Linked DNA regions of Homo sapiens: all the other regions are linked to region 3. Evidence: promoter capture Hi-C in 16 types of primary human blood cells and fetal thymus (Javierre and others, 2016). All regions are on one chromosome and are shown on one strand. Each heading gives the region's core, a stretch centred on a gene start or on the middle of the fragment in contact. The rest is flanking DNA. Distances are from core to core; before and after follow the strand shown.

What was found. The method cuts DNA at HindIII sites, captures the fragments that hold promoters and counts their contacts. A CHiCAGO score of 5 or more calls a contact.
Region 1: a fragment that was not itself captured here is called in contact with the fragment with the promoter of OR4K13 in region 3 in 6 of 17 cell types (M2 macrophages, total CD4 T cells, total CD8 T cells and 3 more); the score reaches 7.9 in M2 macrophages.
Region 2: a contact is called between a fragment that was not itself captured here and the fragment with the promoter of OR4K13 in region 3, in 9 of 17 cell types (M1 macrophages, M2 macrophages, total CD4 T cells and 6 more). The highest score is 10.6, in M1 macrophages.
Region 4: a fragment that was not itself captured here is called in contact with the fragment with the promoter of OR4K13 in region 3 in 10 of 17 cell types (naive CD8 T cells, M2 macrophages, naive CD4 T cells and 7 more); the score reaches 9.6 in naive CD8 T cells.

What each region holds. Positions count from the first base shown.
Region 1 is chr14:19,878,096-19,881,272 of GRCh38, forward strand. OR4K2 (olfactory receptor family 4 subfamily K member 2) reads left to right here. Exons shown (of 2, transcript NM_001005501.2): 2 at 1-3,177. Among named protein-coding and RNA genes, the nearest start is that of OR4K2, 4.5 kb to the left of the region's middle. The HindIII fragment of the contact is 200 bases long and covers 1,514-1,713 here.
Region 2 is chr14:20,162,849-20,165,725 of GRCh38, forward strand. No RefSeq gene overlaps it. Among named protein-coding and RNA genes, the nearest start is that of OR4N5, 25 kb to the left of the region's middle. The HindIII fragment of the contact is 153 bases long and covers 1,252-1,404 here.
Region 3 is chr14:20,034,492-20,037,342 of GRCh38, forward strand. It overlaps OR4K13 (olfactory receptor family 4 subfamily K member 13), which reads right to left and starts at 1,547. Exons shown (of 2, transcript NM_001004714.2): 1 at 1,447-1,547; 2 at 1-490. The coding sequence starts at 267. The HindIII fragment of the contact is 9,053 bases long and covers 1-2,851 here.
Region 4 is chr14:19,899,037-19,902,248 of GRCh38, forward strand. No RefSeq gene overlaps it. Among named protein-coding and RNA genes, the nearest start is that of OR4K5, 20 kb to the right of the region's middle. The HindIII fragment of the contact is 2,116 bases long and covers 289-2,404 here.

The DNA of each region.
Region 1 (3,177 bases), core at 364-2,863, 160 kb before region 3:
AATGAATCTGCATTTAGTAATACATTGTCAATGTAATAAGTATGTTTTTGTACACAAATAGGTTTTATTACTGTTATAAATAAATCTGGTAGGTTCAATATTAGCTTTAATGTATACAAAGTATTACTACCACCTGCTGGTACTAACTGGAATTGCAAGTATTGAAAGAGGAAAAATAATTGTGTATACCCTACTTTGCAAATCATCTTTAAATGATGGCAAACATTCATGAGTTAACTCTTATTTAGAATTTTCTAAATGATATTGATAAAATATAGTGTCTTATATATGATCCAACATGTATCCACAAAGGGAAAGATATGTTGCAACCACAGTATTTGATAATATCAAGTTGTTATTTTCTGGTATGATTGAGTAAATGGAGAAAACAAATGAAATGCATTAATTATCATTTATGAAAGATAATTAAAACAGAAAATCCTTAGATGTTCATATTAAACCAAGTTATAAAAGGAATTTATTTTTTCTTCATCAGTTTGTGTTTTATTTCTTCATTAATGTACTAAGCAAATAAGGAAAAAACTTACAGCTTGAAAGTCTGTGATACTGTGTTTAAAGCCTGAGCAGTTTTGAAATTATTAGATAATAACGTCTACAGTATTAACATAAAATAAAACATGCTTCTGTAAGCACAAGATTAGCATAATTCTATTTTAAATAGGGATACAAATAGGCCAATTTAGGTTTTGAGTGTGAACTTTCTCTTGGTTGCAGTTATATGTACAAATATGTTCATATTCAAGGACTTCGTTTATGTAGAATGTTTTAGCTGGTGCTTAAAAATGCTAGAAATAATTCTTTTACTTGACATATTTCTTTGTCCAGGGAATATTTTCAAAACTGTGCTGCTTTTTGCAATATAAAACTGTGGAATCTTTTGGAAGAGACGCTATTGATTTTCTGTGCTTTTGTGGAGAATTCTAAAACTCAAGAACATTTGCCAAAATACCCTCAAAGGTGTAGCTGATCAGCAGACAACTCTATAAGGCAAGTCAATAATGAGATTAAGTAGTTGGATTGATAGTAAAATTCTGTGGCTGATAATAAAAAGGATTACAGAAAGCCTTTGGAGGGCTTACATATATAAATGGAACTATCACATTTCTCGGTGGCTTAGTGTGAGGAGTCAATATTCATGGTACCTCTGCATGTTATATAAACACTTAAAAATCTTAGTTAGGACTTTAGGACTCATGGTGGTTGGTTTTATCGATATATCTCTTAGACAAGATGCTGACACTCTTTCACCAAGGATAACTGCAGTGACATGGCCATGGACTCGTTAAGCAATAGTAAGGATGGTGCCAGCTGCCACCAGAGTTTCCAGAGACAGAGATAATGTTCTGCAGAGAATACAAGATAAGCAGGCAAGTATAATTTTAAGTGATCTGCACTATCTGCAATAACACAACTGAGGGAGTTCTGGAGCATTTATAAGAAGAGTGTGTTGACAAGCAACTTCATCTTCCTCTACGTGTTTAGGAAGCTGTGAAGCTTGACAACAATTGAATGCAGATGGAAAAACTGTTAAAAATCAGGTATAGATAAAAACAGATAAAGTGTAAATTTTAATATGTGAAGGAACTGGATATATGTAATAGCAATAAAAACTACAAATTATGTTTGTTTCTAAAAATGCTTAAGAAAACTTTTAGAATACTATATGGTATAATGATGGTGGATTTACCATAAAGCTTGTAAAGCTTAGGTTTTATAACTCCTCCTTTGCATGGATTTCCTCGAAGGCCCTAGAATGGAAACTAACAACCTTTTATTAGTTATTTCGATTTTTTTTTCCTGAAACAGGTGTCCTCAAACTGTATAAGCTTTAAGCCTAGCTTGTCCAACCCATGACCTGCAGGTTGCATGCGGCTCAGGAGATGGCTTTAAATTCAGCCCAACACAAATTCATAAGCTTTCTTGAAACATTATAAGATTTTCTTGTGATTTTTTTGTAAAGCTCATCAGCTATCTTTAGTATCAGTGTATTTTATGTGTGGCCCAACACAATTCTTCTTCCAATGTGGCCCAGAGAAGCCAAAACTTTGGACACCCCTGCATTAAAAGGCTCTGCAGAATCTGAAGTCTAATGTGTAGTTTTAAAAGTCTTAGACTCTGGTATCTTTTTTTTTTTTAAACAGTGTTTAATACTACTTCTACTACTAGTGGTGTAAACTTAAGCTAAGTACTTAATACCTCTTAGCCTCAGTTTCTACATATGTTAAAGGAGATAATAGTGGTCTCTACACCACAGAGTTATTTGAGGCATAAAAGAAGCAAATAATATGAAGCATATGGTTGTCAATAAATGTTAGTCATTGTATCATTCTGGGTGATAACCTCTGGATATCTTTGTTTATGGGACTTGATAGTCTCTTGAGCTAACACTTGACTTGTTTAATTTAAAAGGTAAATTTTCATTTATATGTTTTAAATATTCATGTCTGTATATGTGTGTCAGTATTAATTTGAAAAATTAAAAGTAACTTCCACTAGAAAATTACACTGGTTCTTACATTAATTAAAGCTTCTGGAAACTTGTTTTTCTGTCTGTTCACAACTGTCATTAATCAAGAGAAGTATCAAGTTGTTGCTTAATCATTATGCTATTGCTTCTTTACAATGAATAAATATTAAATTGGTTTATTGATTTTAGGATGAATTCACATTACAATTGTTGTCAGAATAAGAATGATGTTTGACTCATATTATTAAGGTGAAGAGATAGGCAGATGGATAGATTAGTAGATAGATGAAGTTTTGTATTATATGAGCTGTCTTATGTGAAGTATTTTTCTGCATTGATAAGGGTTTAGGATAATGTGATCACTGGATTATGCTGCTATATAGAAGTTCTTGGTAAAATGCTGTTATTTGTGCATATCCAGACTCCTTATGAAAGTATTTTCAAATTTAAAAAACTACCAGTGAATCTATTCTCTACATGTGAGTTTTTAAACAACTCAGTTATAGCAAAATTTGTTGAGAGAGTTGGAGTAATCCTCCTATTTCCCTATTCTTTCCCTGATATTATTTTGCATGATTTTTGGATGTATATGTCAATTGAAAAACGGGGAGAAGAAAACAGCCAGGGAAATCTAATTCATGTGAACTTCTTGCATGTACTCTCAGATGCCAATGAAATCCGCTAAGCAA
Region 2 (2,877 bases), core at 78-2,577, 130 kb after region 3:
GCATTGAATAAATACAGCCATTCCAAATGGGAGAAATGGGAGAAATTGGCCAAAACAAAGGGGCTAGAGGCCCCATACAAGTCCAAAATCCAATAGGGCAGTCATTAAACCTTAAAGTTCCAAAATATATCTCCTTTGACTTCATGTCTCACATCCAGGTCACAGTGATGCAACAGGTGGGCTCCCAAAGCCTTGAGCACATCTGCCCCTGTTTTCTTTTTTTTGTTTTGTTGATCCTCTGTACTATTTTTTGGACTGCATTTTATTTAGCACTGCTCTGATCTTTGTAATTTCTTTCCTTCTACTAATGTTGCACTTGCTTTGTTCTTGTTTTTCCAATTCCTTGAGGTATGACAGGTTATTAATTTGTAATTTTACTACACTTTTATATAAGCATTTAATGCTATAAGTCCCTCTTACCACTGCTTTTGCTGTATCCAACAGGCTTTGGTATATTGTGTTTCCATTTTTATTGGTTTTATAATTTTAAAAACATCTCTGTCTTAATTTTTTTCATTGACCCAATTCAGGAGCATGTTGCCTAATCTTTCATGTATTTGTTTAGTTTCCAAAGTTTCTCTTAGTATTGACTTCTAGTTTCATTCAACCGTGATTGAATAAAATATTAAGAACATACTTTGATATTATTTAATATTTTAAAATTTGTTGAGACTTGTTTTGTGACCCAACACATGGTCTATCTTGGAGAATGTTCCATGTGCTGATGAGATGTATATTTTGCAGTTGTTGGATAGAATGTTCTGTAAAAGTAGTTAAGCTTATTTGGTCTAATGTCCAATTTAAGTCCAATACTTCCTTGTTGATTTTCTGTCTCAATTATCTGTCTAGTGCTATGAGCAGGGCATTGAAGTCCCCCACTATTAGTGTATTACTGTCTATGTCTTCCTTTGGGTCTAGTAATATTTGTTTTATAAATCTGGGTTCTCCAATGTCGGGTACATATATATTTAGGACTGTTATATCTTCTTATTGAATTGATCCCTTTTTCACTATATAATGACCTGTAGTCTGTAGTGTTGCCAACTTGATTCTTTTCTCTTTCTTTCTCCATTGTGTGATTTTTCTATAAGACCTGAGGGTTTTATACTCTGTGTTCTCATGATGAAAAGTATTGTGCTTTTGTTTCCAAGTTTAGAACTTCTTCAACAATTTCCTGTAGGTCCAGTCTAGTGACAGATTCCTTCACCATTTGCCTGACTGGGAAATAATTTATTTCTCCTTCATTTATGAAGCTTGATCTTGTTGTATATAGAATTCTTGGCTAGCATGTTTTTTTTTCCTTTCAGCACTTTAGTTATGCCATCTCATTCTCTTCTGACCTGTAAGGTTTCTGCTGAAAAAATTGTTGTTGGTCTAAAGTGGCTTCCTTTTTAAGTGACAAGAAGCTTTTCTATTGCTGATTTTATAATTCTTTCTTTCATTTTGAGTTTAGACGGTCTAATGATTATATCGCATGGTGACAGATTGTGTGTGTGTGTGTGTGTGTGTGTGTGTGTGTGTGTGATGTATTCACTGGGGTTTGTTGGTACTCTGGGATCTGGATGTCTAAATCTCTTGCTAGACTTAGGAAGTTTTCATCTATTATTTTATAAACTGTATTTTCTAAGGCTTCATATCTTTCTTCCTCCTAAAGAATACCAGTAATTTGTACATTAGATTACTTTATGTAGTCCCAAATGTCTCAAAGGCTTTGTTTATTCTTTTTCTTCATTTTTTATCTAACTAGATTATTTCAAGAGACCTATCTTTGTGTTCTAAAATTATTTATTCTGCTTAGTCTAGCCTATTGTTGAAGGTTTCAAGTGTATTTTGTATGTCCTTCAATGAAGTTTTTAGTGCTAAAATATCCTTTTTTAATATTTATCTTTTTAAATTTCTCATTCATTTCCTAAATACATTTTCTGATTTCTTTGTATTGGTTTTCAGATTTATCTTACATCTCACTGAGTTTATTTAAAATCAATATTTTGAATTCTTGATATGGTATTTCTAGAATTTCTCTTTGGCTAGAATCTATTGCTGGAGAATTATTGTGTTCCTTTGAGCGTGTCATATAACCTTGCTTTTTAAAGTTTCCTGCATCTTTACATTGATTTTTGCACATCTGGAGTGATAGTCACTTCTTATTTTCAAATTTACTTTCACTGGGGAGGGTCCTTTTACTCAAAGACATGACTATGATGTTGCTTGGTTAGGGGCATTTGGTTTAGCTTCTTGGTACATACAGTAGTGAATATTCTGTATAATTTCTTTGGCTATAAATAGCATTAGTGGTATGTGTGCTTTCCTTGGCTTAATATGGTGCAGTGATTTGCGGGGCTGTGGTGAAGGTGTGCTGGGGAGGGGAATGCCAGATGGCCCTATCTTCAGATTTCAATGGTAAAGGTGTTGGGCTAAGTGGGTCTATTCTTGTAATCTAGAACAGTGTTTCCTCATGTCTGCTTGGCAGTTGCAGGCAGGCTGATTCTTGAGCCTCTGGACGGCTTTCTTGAATGCCAGTTGCAGTAGCAGCGTATTGGGTGGGTGAGTGGGCTCTGGACTTCCTTGGCAGCCAATGTGGCATGGGCAATGGCAGTAGCAGTGGACACAAGATGCTCTTCAAGTTCTTGAGTTCTGTGTTCTTGTGTTAGCAGTGGTTGCAATGGGTTGTATGGACTGGCCTCCAGGCCAGTAGGTGACACTTTCAGTTAAAAGTCAGCTGTACGGTATTGGTAGGACTTTGATGTCCTACCTCTGTTCCCCAAGAAAGGTGCTTCAGTGTCCCGGGTAGCATACTGGGGTGTGGAACACCCAGGAATCTGAATCCCACAATCTGTCTCAAGGGTGGGTGGGGCAGTGCTGGGATTGGGGTTCCCA
Region 3 (2,851 bases), core at 297-2,796:
ACGTTCTCGGAGGAAATCTACAATCATCTTAGGGGTAGCAAAAGAAGCCAGGATCATATCAATGCAGGAGAGGTTGCTAAGCAGAAAATACATTGGTGTGTGAAGGAGCGAATCAAAGGTCACAGTCACCAAGATGAGCAGGTTTCCTAACACAATCCCCACGAAGACCACAGAGAATCCCAAGAAGAATAAAATCTGAAGATTTTGAGATTTGGAAAGTCCCAACAAAATAAATTCCGATACCACTGAATGGTTTGCTCTTTCCATATCGTCAACTTTATCCCATAATGATCAAAATAAGTGAGAATAAGGGGTAGGGAAATGATGCATATTGGAAAGAAATGTTCATGTTGATGTCCACATTTGGTACTCAGTCAAGGCACTTGAACTTACAAGGACCCTTACTTTTGTGGAATTTTGTCAGTCAGTGATTTTACTAATGGCCCAGAGAAGTATCCCAAATAGTCAGTAGAATTCAGAATATAAGTTTCTGGAAGACAAAAATAAAAACATTAATAGTACATGAAACCACAAAACTATAGGTCATGAATTAGAATCAGAAGACCTCTACAGGACACCTGGGTAAGCTGCTCACTGGGTGACACAGGACAAGTAACTCTCCTTTTGAGGGTTTTCTTCTCAGTGAAAAAAAGAATTTGGACTATATGGTATCGAATGCCTCTTTCTGCTATAAAGATCTCTATGAATAAGATAATGATTCTGGTGAGTTTTATAGTCACAGAATAATATTGAGTTTTATTAATGTGGAAAGGATATCAAAAATACATCCAGGATTCTCAAGAACCATGTTTTGAAATGGACTCTGGTAAAGAAATATGAATTAGGTCCTGAGAAACTTACCTTATTTCCTCCATGCTCCATTCTTGCATGAATCCCTCACAGATCAGTATTAGCAGTAGTCACTACACACTTTTGAAGTGTCAAGTATATGTATAGTATATATATATTAAACATGTATATTACATACATTTCATATATTTATATATATTTATATAATTCGTTCATTCAACATTTCATATTATTCACATCAAATACCTCCTCTAGATGGTTAGACAATGTGTACAAACAACCCACAGTCAAATGTAATTGACTAATTTCACTTTCAGCTTGCATTCATTTATTCATTTACCTGGTTATTGCTATGTAGTGGTTAGCTGGTTGGCCTGTGTATGGTTGTCATAGGTTTCAAAATGACTTAGCTTGATGTAACATTTATGTTGGTAAAAGAAATACAGTTCTTTCAGTATAATCTAAATTTATGACAAAATTTGTCATCGGCTCATGCTTATTACAAACTGGTTCTATTGGTTCAGCTTTTAAAAAAATTGCCTCCGTTGCTAATAGTTTTAAATTAATCTAGGTCTTACAAAACACCTTCAGTAAATAAAGTATTTGTAGTCATCTTTTTGTGCTGTTATTACTTACAAGACAGGGGAAAAAAACTTTCGTGATGGCGTCGTACGTGAATCCCAGGAATGGCCTTTTATCTCCTTTTCCTGTATCCCCATCAGTTATCTGCAATTTACTCTTCCAATCATCAGAAACAGAAAAAATAGAGACCATAGTGCTATATGTTTCTATGAGATAATCCCATAGGAACACTTATCCAACTAGGGATGTATTTTTTTCCCTATGTAAACATATCTGTTGGCCAATTTCCCACTCTGAGAAACTTTGATGCAAAATATTAAATTTCATCAAATATGTAATTAGAGCCATTCATTTATATGTCTATAAAGGTAATAGCTCTCTTCAGTTTTATGACTAATATTTAAGAATTCCTACTAATGCTTCTTTTTGAAACCCAATTTTTGAAGCTGCATTTAAACAGAAGAGAACAATTTTCAAATACATACAAAGAAGTTTATAAATCCTCCACATCTGGAATAGTGCATATCAAAAACACTAAGTGAATATCTGTTGAATGAATAAACTATGTAGTGCATATTCAGGATCTAGATTAAGTCAGCTGACTTAATCCACAGAAAAATCCACAACATTAGGAATTTTAACAATATTTATTTTTAAATGTCAAATTGAATGTTGAAGTATTTTAAAATCAGAAATAGAACAGCCATTCTTAAAAAGCTGGTTAAAATATGTTTTTTTCTTTTAATTATCTTTTAAAAAAAAAGGTAGTTTATGCCAATGTGAAAAAAGCACATCACAGATAACAGAAAGACTGACTGAACATTTTAAGAGCTTCTTAGATAACTTTCCAGAAAAATAATACACACTTCAGTACAGTGTGTGTGTGTTAGTGTTACAGGTATTTATATTTATATCATTTTATTAAGACTGCAGATTATATATTATATGTATAGCTATTTTTCTTGAGTTTTTAACTTATTACATTTAAATATGTTTATATTAACATATAGAAACATAACTTTTTAATAGGTGTATAGAATTCCACTTTGTAGATGTTGCATAATGTAATCTCCCCACAAATACAGTTTATTCTTAGAATGAATTTAACATTACCTATAAAAATTATTTTTCATCATATCACTCTCTTCTTTATAAACCTGTGATAACTACCTTATCAATCCCTAACTTCTCCTGGATATTCATAATCAACTCCTCACCCACCCTAAAAATCCAATATTATTTTCTTTTTTTTTCTTTTTTTTTTTTTAATTATTATACTTTAAGATTTAGGGTACATGTGCACAATGTGCAGGTTAGTTACATATGTATACAAGTGCCCTGCTGGTGTGCTGTACCCACTAACTCGTCATCTAGCATTAGGTATCTCTCCCAATGCTATCCCTCCCCCCTTCCCCCACCCCACAACAGTCCCCAGAGTGTGACATTCCCCTTCCTGTGT
Region 4 (3,212 bases), core at 97-2,596, 140 kb before region 3:
AAAACAAGTATAATTTTACTTTAATTATTTGTCAAGGTATGTGCTTTCTGCCTTAGAATATAAATTCTATAAAGTCAGGACCTGCTATCTTGTACCTCAATGAATTTCCAACTCCTAGTTTAGTATATGTAAACTAGAGTTCCTTGATCATTCAATGAAGAAATGCAGTTATGTGCTGTTACAAAGTGATTTCAAATTAACCAGGCATTGAACACAAAAAGCTTGTAACAGGACAAGTAAGCCATGACAGAAGGCATAATTGTAGTTAAGAATAAAAGTTATTTTTTAAGCTTCCTAATTTGAACGTTTAAAATATATACAAAAGATGATAATGTGCTCACATGCTCCCATCTGTGTATTTATACCCAGGTTTCATAGTTATCAACATATGTCTAGTCTTTTCTTTTTTCCTATGGTTTCAAGTAAAATTGCTAAGTACAAGGGTCAATTGCACACATATTTTGTAGACATTGCCAAATACACTTCCTTTTTATTGCATTCTCATTTATATGAGAGTACCTCATATATATGAGTACCTCATAGACTTCTCAAGAGAGTACATTGAAATTTTAGATTTTTGTCAATGTAATATATGAAAAATTATATTTCAGTGTAGTTCTACTTTTAAACCAGAAGTTCTTAAAATTCCCCATCAAAACCCTCACAAAATTGCTCTTGGTTCCTGAGAAGAATGAGTAAGAGGATTGGCATGGTGAAGAAAGACTCTCTGTTCAGGCTTTCCTGTGCATTTTGCTGCTAAAGCATGGCTTTCTCAAAACACTGTTATAATAAACAGATGTTACCATTCTTTGCCCCCCCCCCTCAGAAAGTCAACAAACAAAATTCCTTGAGAATCCAAAAATTCTGTTGCCATAACCTTTGTTTTTGACTGGACAACTTTGATTGTACCAATACTATCTCTTGGTAGTCATTCTTTTGATTGTGCTGTGTCTTTGGGATCATACTGGTAAAGCCATGTTTCATGTTCTGTTACAATTCTTCAAAGAAATATTTCAGGATCTTGATCCCACTTGATATAGTTTGGATGTTTGTCCCCTCCAAATCTCATGTCTAAATGTGATTTCCAATGTTGGAGGTAGGGCTTGGTTGGAGGTGATTGAATCAGGAGGTGAGTCCCTCATGAATGTCTTAGTAGCATCCCCTTGATGATAAGTGAGTTTTCGTTCAGTGAGATCTGGTTGTTTAAGAATCTGAGACTCCTCTTTCTCTTTCTTGCTCCTGTTTTTGCCATGTGATGCACTTTCTCCCCACTTGTCCTCTGTCATGATTGTAAGCTCCTGAGGCCCTCATCAGAAGCAGATGCTGGCACCATTCTTCCTACCAGTTAAGGAACTGTGATCAATTAAGCCCCTTTTCTTTATAAATTACCCAGTCTCAGGTATTTCCTTATAGCAATTCAAGAATGACCTAATACAAAATTGGTAATGAGGAGTGGGACGTTGCTATAAGGATACTTGAAAATGTAGAAGTAGCTTTGGAACTGGATAATGGGCAAAGTTTGAAAAAGTTTGGAGGGCTCTGAAGAAGACAGGAAGATGAAGGAAAGTTTGGAACTTCTTAGAGACTGGTTAAATAGTTGTGACCAAGATACTAATAGAAATATGGACAGTGAAGACCACACTGATGAGGTCTCAGATAGAAATGAGAGTTTTGGGGAACTGGAGTAAAGGTCACTCATGTTACACCATAGCAAAGAACTTGTTTGCATTGTGTTCATGTTCTAGGGATCTGTGGAAGTTTTAACTTAAGAGTGATTACTTAGGGTATCTAATGGAAGAAATTTCTAAGTAGTAAAACATTCAAGATGTGGCCTGGTTGCTTATAACAGCCTATGGTCAGATATGAGAAAAAAGAAATAAATTTAGATGTATTTAAAAGGGAAGCAGAGTGTAAAACTCTGAAATATTTTTAGCCTGGACATGTGGCAGAGAAAGAATCCAATCCAAGCAGGCTGTAGGGCAATCACTTGCTAGAGAGACTAGCATGACTAAAGGGCAGCCAAGTGCCAATACTCAAGACAATGGGAAAAAGGCTCCAAATGTATTTATTTCAGAGATCTTGGAGACAGCCCCTCCCATCATAGGGACAGAGGCTTAGGAGGAAAGAACGATTTCAGGGGCCAGGCCCAAGATGGCACTGCTCTGCTCAGCCTCAAGACACTGCTCCCACATTCCGGCTGCTTCAGTTCCAGCCGCAGTTCAAAGGGTCCCAGGTACAGCTTGGGCTGCTCCTTCACAGGGTGCAAGCTGTAATCCTTGGTGCCTTCTATGTGGTGTTAATCCTGCATGTACACAGAAGAATACTGTGGCAAGGGTGAAAAAGGTTTGGCAGCTTCCACCTGTGTTTCAGGGGGTATATGAGGAAGCCTCTATTCCCAGGCAGAAGCTTGCCACAGGGGAGGAGACTTCACAGGGAACCTTTACCGGGGCAATGCTGAGGGGGCAATGTGGGGTTGGAGTCCCCACACAGAGTCCCCACTGGGGCACTGCCTAGTGGAGCTGTGGGAGGGGGGACACCACTCTCTAGACCCCAGAATGGTCAATTCACCTGCAGCTTGCACACTGTGCCTGGAAAAACCACAGGCACTTAACTCCAACTTGTGAGAGCAGCCATGGGGACTGCAACCTGCAAGGCTACATAGGCAGAGTTTCTCAAGGCCTTAAGAGTCCACCCTTTGCATCAATATGTTCTGGATGTGGGAAATGGAGTCAAAGGAGATTATTTTGGAGCTTTCATATTTAATGACTGCCCTGCTGGTTTTCAGACTTGCATGGGACCTATTATCCTTTTCTTTTAGCCAATTTTTCTCTTTCAGAATAGTAATGTTTACCTAATGCTTGTACTACTATTAGAGCTTGGGAGTAAATAACTTCTTTTGATTTTAGAGGCTCATAGGTGAAAGGAGATGAGTCTCAGATGAGACTTAAGACTTTGGATTTGATATTGGAACGAGTTAAGACGTTGGGGGACTGTTAGTAAGAGATGATTATTTTGTGATGTGAAAAAGACATGAGATTGGGAGGGCCAGGGGTAGAATGATATGGTTTACATATTTTTCCCCCCCAGATCTCATGTCGAAATGTGATCCCCAGTGTCGGAGGTGGTGCTTGGTGGGAGGTGTTTAGATCATGGGGGCGGGTCCCTTATGCATGGCTTTAGCACCATCCATTTGGTAATGAGTCGGTTCCCAC